Linked DNA regions of Homo sapiens: all the other regions are linked to region 2. Evidence: promoter capture Hi-C in 16 types of primary human blood cells and fetal thymus (Javierre and others, 2016). All regions are on one chromosome and are shown on one strand. The core of a region is centred on a gene start or on the middle of the fragment in contact, and the rest is flanking DNA. Distances in the headings are between cores, read along the strand shown.

Region 1 (4,122 bases), core at 1,153-3,652, 130 kb after region 2:
TCATGGTTACCCACTAGCTGCCTGAGGTACTTGGAAAGGGCTTTTTTGGAGGCTCAGGAGGAGGAGAGAGAAATATTAATCCTTCACAAACAAATTACCCATGATATACATTCTCTCCAAAAGCAAAAAGTCACTTTTACCCATTAAGAACTCACAATATAATCTTGCGCTGTCTCTGTCTCTAAAATTCTCCAGGCTGAAAAGGTATCCCAGGCTAGCAAATGGACTCATTTCAAGGGTAAATGGAAAAGCTCAGAGGAAACCAAGGCGCTACTTAAAAAAGAAAGAAAAAAGCCTAATGGAGATTTTTTTTTCCCTAAGGAAAATGCAATTGAAAATCATCAAAATCTTTTCTAAGCTGTTCCCAAGTTATAGTCTTTAAGCAAGTGTGTTCCTGGAGAAAGGGCCTGATGACTAGAACCTCAAGAGAAAGCTCAGGTACAACCCCCAGAACGAGAATGCGTATGCTCTTTGTGTGTGTGTGTGTGTCATAGAGGGAGAGGGCTCTACTTCCTCCCCTTACTTCAGAAAGCCCTGAGGATGGGTCAGGGCAACCTTAGGAGTATGCTACCTTTTCCAATCAGGATCCCAGCCTGGCTACACAAGGCACCCTTGATCAAATGAGGAAAAGGCCACTGAGCCCAGCAGGGAGAGAAAAGGAAGGGAGCAGTATTAGCCTCTCGAGACCAAAAGCATTGCAGCCCTGATAGCATACAGGCAGCAAGCTTCCTGGTACAAGCTGATAAGATTTTCCAAGGGAGTTGATAGGAAAGTAAATATTTCCTGGAGAAGGAACCCACTCCCTCAGAGAGCCAGGGTAAGCCTGGAACAGCAGAAAACCAGGGCAGGTTACTCAAACACTGCGATGATCTGCTCAATGGGTCTGTCTCCACGGACCCCCATCCCCTGCCAAACTGCCAGTTCAGCTCACAGGGGAGAAGCTGGGTCCTCTTCAGCTCTGTATCCCCAAAGGTCTAGCTCTTACAGATACAGGTTCACTGGATTCAGAGAGTATGCGTAACATACCTGGCTTAATCAATTTATGTAAAATTTAAGTCCCTTAACCTCTCTGTGGGTAAAAAACCCAGCATGACATCAACTGTGTGATACTAACATTTGAAATGGAGACATCGGTGAAAGCTGATAATCACTCCTTAAGACTTGCATATTCTAAGAGACTGAGATACAGCTGAGGATATACAGACTATATAAAGTTACACAAACTTTTTTTTTTTGAGACAGGGTCTCATTTTGTTACCCAAGCTGGAGTGCAGTGGAGTGATCTCAGCTCACTGCAGCCTTGACCTCCTGGGCTCAAGTGATTCTCTGGCCTCAGTCTCCCAAATATCTGGGACTACAGGCACGTGCCACCATGCCCAGATAATTTTTTGTATTTTTTGTAGGGACAGGGTTTTCCTACATTGCCCAGGCTAGTCTCAAACTCCTGGGCTCAAGTGATCCACCCACCTTGACCTCCCAAAGTGTTGGGATTACAGGTGTGAGTCATTGTGCCCCGCCTATACAGACTTTTTAAAGTTAAAAATATACACACACAAAACAACACACTCAACAACACTATTTTTTTTATTTCCCACCCTACACCAACATACTAACAACACTTTTATGTAGCATTATATTAGCTGCAAATACATCCTCTGGACAGAGACTAACACACAAGATGAATTTCAAAAAGGGCTATATCACAACATTTATACCAAAATGTTAACTGCTATCTCTGGGCAGCAGTTATGCATTAATAATGCAAAGTAAATAATATGCAAATAAATTATGCATATTATTTACTTTGTCAAAGGAAAAGTATTTCTGTAATTTAAAAAGTGATTTTCTAAAAAGTGGCCAGGTTTCTCTGTGTGAGAGCCAGGGTATAACCCAGGAACAGGAACTGCAGCCTATTATCAGGGCTGAACTAAGTAGGGGTTTGGAAGAAACCAGCTCTTCTGGACCACTGATCGCTCTGGACTTGGTCCTCACACTTGTGTTACTGTCTGCTGTGCTAAGTTCTCATCCAGTGATAAAGATACCAATCCTTGCTATCTTCATTTTCAGCATTTTAATTATAATAATTCTATGTCATGTCCTGATTTTTAGAGCATCTCAACTCTGTGGCTCCAAGGAGCCACAATATAAGCAGAATATAATTGATTTTTTAAAAGGCACCAAATTCTACTAGTATAGACAGTTCTCCTGAGAGTGACTTCCATGAAAATCTATGAGAATCTTTAGAGAATGAAAAAAAGCTGTCAGTTTTCAAGACGTTCCTTCTCAAGTTTCCCCTGTGGCTAACCACACTGACCACTGGGAAGATTGCACTAGGTGCCTACGGGCACTGTGCCACACAGGCAGCTGGTGTGGTAAGAGACATACCACCCTATGCACAGGCCCTGGAGCCTGGGCCCTTTCTGTACAGGAATGGCTCATTACTACTGGGAAGAATATATCCTAGGGGAAGATCCGTGTCACCTCGGATGGTCCCCACACCAATGACCTACAGCACTGGACTTGCTCTGCAGAGTGCAGCTGACATAGGGAGGTCCCGACAATGCCTGGTTAGCTCCAATCCTTCTAAGACTGCCCTACTCTATCCCACCTGTGCCTTCCAATTTCCCTTACTACCCAAAGTAGTCTTCTTTTCCTTGCCCACAAAACCAATGTCCTCATTGTTTATAACAAGCTAACTGAAGAAAGCTATGCAAGAGATAATAGGCATATGTGTGTCATGTTTTTTAAGACTGGGTAAAAGTAGTATCAAAGCAGAAAACCAGGCTGCTCCTGGGTGAAAGGGGCCTAAGAACAATGAAGCAAGGCCATCTGGTCTGGAAGCAGCAGACTTCAAAATACCTTGTTTCCCCAGGCCAGCCAGGTCTGGCCAACCCAGCCTGCTCTCAGCCCTCAAGCACAGATCACATCCCATCAGCCAGCTGAATAAATTGGATCTGCAAAGAGCAGTTGTCTTTCCTCACTCCATTACCTCTGAGTGCTAGGCAAACCGAGGCTTTTAAAAAGGCAAAATAGAATGTTCTACATAAAGTACCTGACCAAAACAGATTGTCTCTATCCCCAAGAAGATGGAAAAATCCAAGGGCATCTTTGAGTCTACAGTCCCTTAGTGTCATGACCACACTGTCATCACATGACACTCAGATCCACTGCTGGTGCAGTCATTAGGGAGACCATCATTGAAGTGCTGGACCTGACTGAGTAGGTCTGTCAAGTTAAGGACCTAAGTCAGAAGGAATGAGAGCCTAAGATGGTGCTGAGTCCCCAGTACACTCACTAAAAACCATTCTCATCTGCTTTTGTGAAGAGAGTTGCAATTGAGTACCACCAGAGAAAAACCATCTTACCCGCAGACTCCTCCTCCTTTACCACTGCTAACACATTGTGCTATAGTTAAGTTTGAAGTATTTTAAGGATATTCCCTGACAAAATACAAAACAGTACAATACAGTCATGCATCTCTCAATGATGGAGATATGTTCTGAGAAATGCATTGTTAGGCATTTTTGTCATTGTGTGAACATCATAGTGTACTTACACAAACCTAGGTGGTATAGCCTACTGTACACCTAGGATATATACTATCACCTATTGCTCCTAGGCTACAAATGCGTACAGCATGTTGCTATATTGAATACTGTAGGCAATTTTAAACAATGGTAAGCATCTATGTGTCTAAACATAGAAAAGGTACAGTAAAAATGTGGTATAAAAGATAAAAACTGGTATACATATATAGAGCACTTACCATGAATGGAGCCTACAGGCCTGGAAGTTGCTCTAGATGAGTCAGTAAGTGAGTGAATGTGAAAGCCTAGGACATTACAATACCCTACTGCAGACTTCATATATACTGAACACTTACACTATCTGCCATACACTTAGGCTATACTAAATTTATAAAACAAATTTCTTTCTTCAATAACTAACCTTAGCTTACTGTAACTTTGAAAAAAATTTTAAACTTTTTGACTCTTTACCAACACTTTGCTTAAAACATAAATATATTATACAGCTAAACAAAACTGTTTTTTCTTTATACCCTTATTCTATAAGCTTTTTCTATTTTTAAAATTTATTTATTTTTTACTTTTTAAACATTTT
Region 2 (4,727 bases), core at 1,844-4,343:
TTTAAAATGCAGATGATGATAACAGTGTCTAGTTTGGGGGATGTTGTGAGGATCAAGCAAGATAATGCATGTGCAGTGTTGATTACAGGGGAATTGTCACCACTAGCACCGCTTTCTTCCAGGTCCTCCCCACTGGGGAGCAAGTGCTCTCTCCAAATCAAGAACTCTGGCCTAGCAGTGAGTCAGCAGCACTCAGAGTCCCATGGAGCCTGCCTTTCCAGAGGCCCAGGAAACTCGCATGGGCTGGGAAGCAGGATGCCAGGGTTTCTGCTCTGCACTTGCCCCCTTCTGACTCACTGGTGGCCCAGGGCTAATCAGTCTCCAAGCCTCAGTTTGCTCATGGTCAATAGACAGTCAATAAAAGCAGGCTTGTCTGTCTGAACTCTACTTCCTTAGGACTATGTTCCTGGCATTTGACAACCTGACATCCAGAGAGCAGGTGGGGGAGACCTGAGCAGGAGGAGGGGACAATATGGAGGAATCCTGCATGACAGTGCTGTCTCATTGACATCTCATATGATTCTGACAATAATGGGGCATAAAATCCAGTGTCTACCTTGGCTTATAACGTCCTCTTTTATCTGTTGCTAGCCTTTGTTCCAATATCATCCCATATCTCTCCTTTTTTGGCCCTCTTGCTTTTCCTTGAATGCTCCCAACTTTTTTCCATTTCAGAGTCTTTGCACTATTTGCACATCTTGGAATGCTTTTGTCATAGATGATCCCAAATCTGATTTCTTCTTCTCATTCAGGCCTCAGCTTACATGTCACCTGCTCAGAGAAGGCTTTGCTAATCAGTTTAAAGTGTCATCCTGGGCACTGGAACATATTATCCTACAGCACATCATTGTATTTTAACTTTCATCTTAGCAGTTATCACTATAGGATATGTTTTTCCTTGTTTATTTCCTTAATGTGCTGCCTGTCTACTATAGAATATAAGCTCTGTGAAAGCAGGTCCTGGGCTGTCTTATTTATTTCTATGTCCCCAGTGCCCCCCAAAAATGTTCAGTTAATGTTTATGATATAATTGAGTTAATGAGATTGCCTCAGCATGAATTGTGATTCCTTTTCTTTGCTCAGAGACATCCAAGATTCTGAGAGGGGAAGTGACTGTCCCAAATCCAATTCAAGCTTTTTATCTTCTTTTTTCAGGCCCTTCCTGTAAAACCTGGCTGACACACAAACCTAGCTGGGGTGAGGCTCCAGGTGTGATGAAAGTTTGGAGTTGCCCCATGAATGGGACTGAGGCTGATGTGGGGGTGAGAAGGCGGAAGGACAGAGCATGTGAAGGGAGAAAGGCAGGCTGGGGCAAGAGAGCAGGGTGTGACTCTGGCGAGGGTGGGGGAAAGGGGGTGATTTGACCATGTGTCAGGAAGTGTTTCTCTCCACCCTCCCCTGGGGAGAGCCTTGACCCCAAGGTGGCTTTGTTTTGGGGAAGCAGGTGGCCAGGCAGCTGCTGAGGGAGGGCAAAGTCATGGCTTGGGCGGTGACCATGCACTGAGGTCCTAGGCCCGATACTCATCACCCAAAAGGATAATCTAACAGTGGCTCTTAGCCAAATAGGTGACAGGTGAGCTTCTGTCTGAAACCAGCCCAACTATATCATAAAGCCTCAGATATGGCCTAGGGGAAGGCAAGCGATCTAGAGAAGTGAGAGAAAAGAGGCCTCTAAGGAAATAGAGTGGTCAAGTGCTTAGTGATTATTATTAACAGCAACAATAATAATGGGTCACATTTATTGAGAGCTTATAGTGTGCCTGGCACTATACTAACTACTTTTATGTGTTCCCGCATTCATTTCTCAAAAAGCTCCCTACAAAGTAGTCATTATTATTATTGTTATTATTTTTTCCATTTGAGAGACGTCAAAACTGAGGCTCAGTGAAATTAAGTTTCTTGTCCAAGGTCACACAGTAAGTAGCAAAGGCAGGATTCAAACTCAGGTCTGTAGTGATTCCAGTGCACTATGGAAACCTAGGCCTAGGTTACTGGAGCAAGTTAAGAGGGCAGGGCCAGACTGACCCCTGCAAAGGTGGGGATAGGGAGGGACAGTGGGATAGACTGTGTATAAATAGCAGGCCTGTTTTTATCCCTACACACAGGCAGAATCCGGCAAGTGCTCTATCTGGCACAATTTCAGGGCTCTGAAAGCCAACCCAGCCCTGTGTCAAACAACTCTCTCCCCAGCACGTCCCTGGAAACTGAAATACCTACTGAGACACTCATTTCTTTGGGTCAGGACAGTGACTCCAGAAGACCCCTGCAAAAGCACATGGGTTGGAAGAGAAACACCTAGTGTCTGTGAAACAGCAATCTAGGTTAGCCAGCTGGGTCCTATGGGAGGGTGGCTCATTTTTTATGTTGAGGAAAAAGGTGGCAGTCAAAGGCAAGGAAAAGAATAAGGCTTGTTTCACAACCTGTGTCTCTCCAATCTCAGAAGCCTGGGAATTACAACCCATAGTTCAAAAATCCTAATGTCCCCTGAGGGAAGATGGGAGGAAGCCACTCCAGAGACTAAGAGAGTACTAACTTCCTTTGCTTTTGCTGGATTGATACTAAGTGCCTGCAACTTCAACTCTGGTTATCTCGGGTTTATGAGAACGGCTGGCATTCACGTGTCTAATTTTTAAATGATAGATGAATTAATTATTATTTGATACTTGCCGTGTTGGTAGGCCAAAAGGTGGGCTTCTGAAACTTAGAGGGTGACAGGGATGGAGACCCCTGGTATGGGGCTTAGATGAAGCAAGAGGCCAGGCCCGGAACAGAACTCAGCTCAGCAGTCAGTCACAAGGCTGCAGAGTGACAGGCGTTTGGGGAAAGGTAGGAACCGCTCTCCGCCACCTGCCGGTCAGTAGCCCTACCCACAATCAGGCCGCGGCTGCCTCGGCCTGGTCCCAAAAATTGTGAACGCCGCCCTCTCCTCCCGCCCAGTCCTCCGCCGCGCCCGCGGGGTCGGGGGCTGCGCTGCCGGCGCCGCGAGCCGGGCGAGCTTCCCAGCACGGGAGGAGGGAGGGGGCGGCGCCGGGCGGGGCGGAGCTTCCGCGCCTCCTGGAGCCTTATTCCCGGCCGCGAGCCGGGCAGCGCTCATTCGGCCGAAGGAGCTACGCGGGCCACGCTGCTGGCTGGCCTGACCTAGGCGCGCGGGGTCGGGCGGCCGCGCGGGCGGGCTGAGTGAGCAAGACAAGACACTCAAGAAGAGCGAGCTGCGCCTGGGTCCCGGCCAGGCTTGCACGCAGAGGCGGGCGGCAGACGGTGCCCGGCGGAATCTCCTGAGCTCCGCCGCCCAGCTCTGGTGCCAGCGCCCAGTGGCCGCCGCTTCGAAAGTGACTGGTGCCTCGCCGCCTCCTCTCGGTGCGGGACCATGAAGCTGCTGCCGTCGGTGGTGCTGAAGCTCTTTCTGGCTGCAGGTAAGAGGGCTGCCGACGCCCCCGGAGATCGGGGGGATGGGGGCGTTGTGCTGGGGGCATGGGGGAAGGTCGCCGCAGCGCACCCGGCACGGGCCACTTGGTGGGGCCCTTGCGCTCTGGCGGACGGGCGTCGGCATCGGTGCGTGTTGGTCAGGGGTCTGGGCGGGTGTCTGATGCGGCCTGGCCTCTCGCCCGCAGTTCTCTCGGCACTGGTGACTGGCGAGAGCCTGGAGCGGCTTCGGAGAGGGCTAGCTGCTGGAACCAGCAACCCGGACCCTCCCACTGTATCCACGGACCAGCTGCTACCCCTAGGAGGCGGCCGGGACCGGAAAGTCCGTGACTTGCAAGAGGCAGATCTGGACCTTTTGAGAGGTGGGTGTGGAGGCCCCCCATCCTTGGACCTTGGTGGGCTGTTGAAGAATAAGCAGATCCAAGATTCTTGCTGTTTGGGCAATACTGTGGGTTGAGGGTATTCATGGAGAACCTCGGGGAAAAGCTGATCGGCCTGATGGGCACTGGGGGATCCTGGAATATAGGTCCCACTCTCTCTCTCTTGTCATTGCCTCACCTGCTGGGTTGCTGCCCTTCTGGGTACTCCGGGGCAAATTGAATCAGACGTGTTGTCTGGGGTTGTTACGTTCTTCTTAGGTAAGCTGGGTGATAGGAACAAGGAATGGTTGAGATGCTTTCCCTAGAGCTACTATGTAAAAATGGGCGCCAGTTCTAATTCCCATATCAAATGACTATTATATATAAAATAGAGGTAACACATGCGGAGATGCCCAGGCACATCTCTAGAAAGTGTGCAGTGTTGGCCTCCTCCATCCACCTGTCTCCAGATTGGGGAAACAGAGGGGAATGAGGAGCTCTTGGCCGCCCTAGATGAGGCTGTGAATGGTGAGCACTGAGCCCCTAGGGGGCTGTATTAAAATGCTGGATATCTGTGAATGCTACCGGAAACCTGCAGCTTACTGAGCACCTTGCATTCCTGAGGAGACTCCAAATGGGGAGGGCTGTGTAGGATCCTCCAACCAGCCTCTTTGGCTGTGGCCAAGTACAGGTACAGGGCAGAGTCCAGAGCCTGCCAGCTCTCCTGCCTCCAAACCTGAGGAGATTATCCAGAGTAGAGCAAGGACTCAGCACTGTACCCTGGAATGACTATATTTGGTTGGACAGATGCCCACCTGTTCTAGTTCCACCTGCTCCTCAGCTGCCCTTCTCCCTCATTCCCAGGAGCTTTCCTTGGATACTCTCTCTACTTTGTATAAATCAAGCACATACTCCAAAACTGAGCCTGGGCTCCCATACTTCATC
Region 3 (4,527 bases), core at 195-2,694, 210 kb before region 2:
AGACAGAAGCTTTGGCCAGTTCCCTGTCCTGCAGAAGCTTTCAGGGAGTCTAGAGGCAGAAAGTAGCTGGATCCTCACATTCCCCTTCTCCCTAGGTTCAGTACCAGAAGTGTCTTGTGGCCTCTGCAGCTCGAGGCAAGGCCTGGGGTGCCCAGGCCCGTGCCCGCCTGCGGCTCAAGCGGACCAGCTCCATGGATTCCCCAGGAGGTCCCCTGCCCCTCCCCCTGCTCAAAGGAGGGGTTGGCGGTGCAGGGGCAACCCCTCGAAAGCGGGGTGTCTTCTCTTTTCTTGATGCCTTCCGGCTGAAACCCTCTCTGCTCCATATGCCCTAAACTTATCTGGGAAGGCTGGGGAAGTAGGCTCTGGGTCCATGCCTAACTCTGTACCGTTTTATTCCTCAAGGCCTATAGCCTGTCACTCCTTGAAGCCTTCTCTGCCTGTCCCTCCGATCCTTGTCCACCGTCTATTTATTGCCCAATTTATTGTTTATACGGATGACTGGGAGGCACTGCACCACAACGTAGGACCCTGGCTCCCCTTTCCTTGGGTCCTTGTGTTCCTTGCCCCTGTCCAACCCTGGACAGTTGGCTCTACCTCAGTAACACTTTATAGCAAAATCAGTGCAAATAAAAATCCCTCAGTGACCTCACTGGATGTGAGTATATTGGGCCTGGGACAGGGCTGGGGGCTAACACCCTGTGTGAGATGAGTGTCTTTGTGTCTGTGCTTGATGTTGGTGGCTCTCTGTAGTCACATGACAGCATGGGTGTGATGGAGATCTGACTTCATTCAACAAACATATTTTCTAAGGAGTTCCCTGTGCCAGGCACTAAGCTGGGCACTGGGAATGTAATAAAATAGTCAAGGTCCCACCTTCTAAGACTGTCCGACAGGGAAACGAACAAGAGTCAAATAAGGCAGAAGATGTGATGTAATACACCTACGAAATCTCAGAGGGTTGTAGGGTCGTGGGAGCTCAAGTGAGACACTTAACCTGGCCTGAGACATTCCAGAAGGCCTCCTGAAGAACTGACATCTGAACTGAGAACTGAAGGAAGATGAGTACTAGTGAGGCTACCGGACGTGAATGTGGAGATTGTGCAGGGCAATGCAAGAGGAGGCTGTAGAAGTCAACCTGGCTAGATCACAGCGGGGTGTATGTGGGGCAGGAGCTTCTTTGTTTGAATTTGCTCCTGAGAGGATGAGGCCTCCTAGAGCACTGGCTCCTGGACAGCAACCTCCTTTGGTGCCTTGTGACCAGGGCCCTGATGGTTCATTAGATGGAGCCTTCGAGTCTTAGGGAGTTGCCGCAGGGTCCCCACAGCGGCTCCCGACGGTTGTGAACCAGCATCCATCCTCCACGGATTCCGGCAACCCGCCTGGCCCTGGACGTGTCTCAACTGGCCCGCGTGAGGGGCCGCCCCGGAAATGACGCGCTGCCCCGCTGGCCAAGCGGAAGTGGAGATGGCGGAGCTGTACGTGAAGCCGGGTGAGCGCAGCCGGCGGGCTAGGGCACTAGGTTGTCGCCCCGGCCTAGGCTGGGGGCGGTTGCGGCGCTTAGTATGGACCCTCTGTCTCCCCCAGCCCCAGTATAAGCTAACAGTGGAGTTCCGGGCTCGCTTCACACATCCCTCGCCTCCGCAGGCAACAAGGAACGCGGCTGGAACGACCCGCCGCAGTTCTCATACGGGCTGCAGACCCAGGCCGGCGGACCCAGGCGCTCGCTGCTTACCAAGAGGGTCGCCGCACCCCAGGATGGATCCCCCAGAGGTGCGTGGGGCCCCTGTGCTCGGAGACAGACGGAGAATGGGGGGGGGGGGGTGTAAGGCATAAGCCTGTTTGGAAGGCTTTTTTCTCTCCCCGAGGGCTCCTTAAGGAGAGAAGTTTTGGGGCTCCAGTAAGGGTCTCAGAGCAGGTGCTTTTCCGAGCCCCTTCTCTGCTGCTCAGGTTAATAAATGGTGTATTGATTTAAAAAGACTATTTTTTCATCCTAGATGATCTTATCCAGACCTGTGGCTTTTAATATAGTTTTAATCCTGAAGTTATTTTTCTTTGTTAACCTATACCTCTTGCCAGAACCGTATAGTGGCATATTCATTTGTCCATTCTGTCTTCACTTAGGTATATGATAATCGTCAGACTTCACAGTTTTTCATTCATTTAATCACTGTTATTTACTGAGCACTTCTATAAGTCAGGCACTGTTTGAGGGCGAACTAGACAGCAGTGAGAAAAAAAAAAAAAAGATCTCTGCTTTCAGGAAGTCCACGTTGCAGCACTGGAGATGGGCTGAAAGATGAAATAGTGGTGAGGGTGCTACAGAAAATAAGCGGTGATGTAATATGACTGGGTAACGAGGTGTCTGAGGGGCTGACATTTAAGCCACACAAAGATCATGTACAAAAGCATTCCAAGCAAAAGAAACAGCTGCAAAAGGAATAAGTTTGGCCAATTCAGAGACTGATGAAATACAGAGTGGCTGGCTACAGCATAGTGGGCTTTGTAAAGCAGGATGAGGAATTTGTATTTTAATCTACATAAAGTTAGAAGCCATTGAAAAGTTTAAAGTAGAGGAGAGCCACCTTTCCCCCCGAGAATTTTCCAAGCCATTAAATGGGCTGTGCCGTGGCCCCCATAAAGGGGCTCAGGTTTGGTTCTTTCAGTGGCCCTCCATTCTCCACACCCTTTTTGCTGTAGAAGAATGATACAAGGCTTGGTTTCTTAAACTCAGCAGTATTGATAGGTTGTGGCCAGATAATTCTTTGTGAGGGACTTTCCTGTGTCTTATGTTAATCAGCAACTCTGACTTCTACCCAAAAGATGTCAGTAGCATCCACCCAGTTGTGATAGCCAAAAGTGTTTCCAGACATTTGCCCTGTGGGCACTATCTTCCTAGCTTGAGAACCAGGGACTGATTTACATTTTGGAAAGATCACTGTGTCTGCTGTGTGAAAACAAGATTTTAGGGAAGTGGAAAGACAAATTACAGCTATTATGGTAATATAGGCAAGATTTAATGATTTGCATAAGGGTGGGAGTCAGGGTGGTAGGAGTTGGATGGATATGAGATGGAGAAGGTCAGTAGGAATGAGTAGATTAGGAAGAATCCATATAACTGAATTTTTTTGCTTGATATAGGAAGACTGGGGATGGTGGTTTTGGGGAGGGGGAGTTTTTTTGGGGGGCCATGTGAAGTTTAGGCTGTTACTTTTGGGGAATGTTCTAGGCCAGAATTAGAGAAATAAGTCACCATTACAAGGATGGTATTTGATGTCATGGGCTTGAATATGGCCAGGGACAGAGCCGTAGGGCACTCTAGCATTTCAAGGTTGAGAAGGAATCAGCAAAGGAGATTGGGAAATGGCCAAAGAAGAAAAAAGGAGAGGCCAGGCGCAGTGAGTCACGGCTGTAATCCCAGCACATGGGGAGGCCAAGGTGGGCAGATCACCTGAGATCAGAAGTTCAAGACCAGCCTGGCCAACATGGCGAAACGCTGTCTCTACTAAAAATACAAAAATTAGCTGGGCCTGTAATACCAGCTACTTGGGAGGGTGAGACAGGAGAATCGCTTGAACCTGGGAGGCGGAGGTTGCAGTGAGCCGACATCGCACCACTGCACTCCAGCCTGGGCGACAGAGTGATATTCTGTGACAAAACCAAAATAAAAAAAGAAAATAGGAGAGCGTAAAGACATGAATCAATAGTAATGAATGCTGCTGAGACATCAAGATAGAGACAAGGGGCCAGGCGCAGTGGCTCACGCCTGTAATTCCAGCACTTTGGAGGCCAAGGCGGGTGGATCACGAGGTCAGGAGTTCAAGACCAGCCTGGCCAACGTGGTAAAACCCTGTCTCTACTAAAAATACAAAAAATAGCCAGGTGTAGTGGCGGGCACCTGAAATCCCAGCTACTCGGGAGGCTGAGGCAGGAGAATCATTTGAACCTGGGAGGTGGAGCCTGCAGTGAGCCGAGATCGCACCATTGCACTCCAGCCTGGGACTCCATCTCAATAAAAAAAAAAAGAGCGACAAGGAACCAGTAGATTTGACAAACATAGCAGTCACTCGTGATCATAACAAGAGCAAGTCTCTGCAGTAGTGAGAACAGAAACAGCTGGAATGGGCTGAGGAGAGAATGTGAAAAGTAGAGAGAGTGACTATAAAGAGCTCACTCAAATGCTGCTGCAGAGATAAGAAATGGGACAGTATCTGAAAATGGAACATGAAGTAAGGGAGTGTTTTGATAGTAATATACTAGAGCATGTTTGTACACTAACGGGATGATTCAGTAGAGAGGGGGAGCTGATGATGCAAGAGAAGATAGTTACAGTAGGGAAGTCTAGAGAAGACAAGAGAGGCTAGGATGCAGAGTACAGCTGGTAAGATGGCTTTTGATAGGAGCAGGAACCTTTTCATCTATTACAAGAGGAAGAAAAGTGGCCACAGATGCAGGTGGGTTAGGAGGAATGGTGGTGGGAAGATGAGAGAGTTCTGTTTAATGACCTCTACTTTTCAATGAAACATTAGG

Evidence for each region. The method cuts DNA at HindIII sites, captures the fragments that hold promoters and counts their contacts. A CHiCAGO score of 5 or more calls a contact.
Region 1: a fragment that was not itself captured here is called in contact with the fragment with the promoter of HBEGF in region 2 in 1 of 17 cell types (endothelial precursors); the score reaches 5.1 in endothelial precursors.
Region 3: a contact is called between the fragment with the promoter of SRA1 here and the fragment with the promoter of HBEGF in region 2, in 1 of 17 cell types (activated CD4 T cells). The highest score is 6.1, in activated CD4 T cells.

The regions. Positions count from the first base shown.
Region 1 is chr5:140,213,255-140,217,376 of GRCh38, reverse strand. All of the region lies in intron 2 of CYSTM1 (cysteine rich transmembrane module containing 1), which reads right to left. Among named protein-coding and RNA genes, the nearest start is that of CYSTM1, 40 kb to the right of the region's middle. The HindIII fragment of the contact is 3,349 bases long and covers 728-4,076 here.
Region 2 is chr5:140,344,969-140,349,695 of GRCh38, reverse strand. It overlaps HBEGF (heparin binding EGF like growth factor), which reads left to right and starts at 3,093. Exons shown (of 6, transcript NM_001945.3): 1 at 3,093-3,413; 2 at 3,612-3,785. The coding sequence starts at 3,368. RefSeq lists silencers at 2,809-2,858, 2,899-3,178. The HindIII fragment of the contact is 6,957 bases long and covers 1,137-4,727 here.
Region 3 is chr5:140,554,390-140,558,916 of GRCh38, reverse strand. SRA1 (steroid receptor RNA activator 1) reads left to right here and starts at 1,444. Exons shown (of 5, transcript NM_001035235.4): 1 at 1,444-1,489; 2 at 1,645-1,770. The coding sequence starts at 1,465. It overlaps APBB3 (amyloid beta precursor protein binding family B member 3), which reads left to right. Exons shown (of 13, transcript NM_133173.3): 13 at 96-649. The coding sequence ends at 332. RefSeq lists enhancers at 1,015-1,074, 1,165-1,524, 1,390-2,211 and a silencer at 2,735-2,884. The HindIII fragment of the contact is 6,646 bases long and covers 40-4,527 here.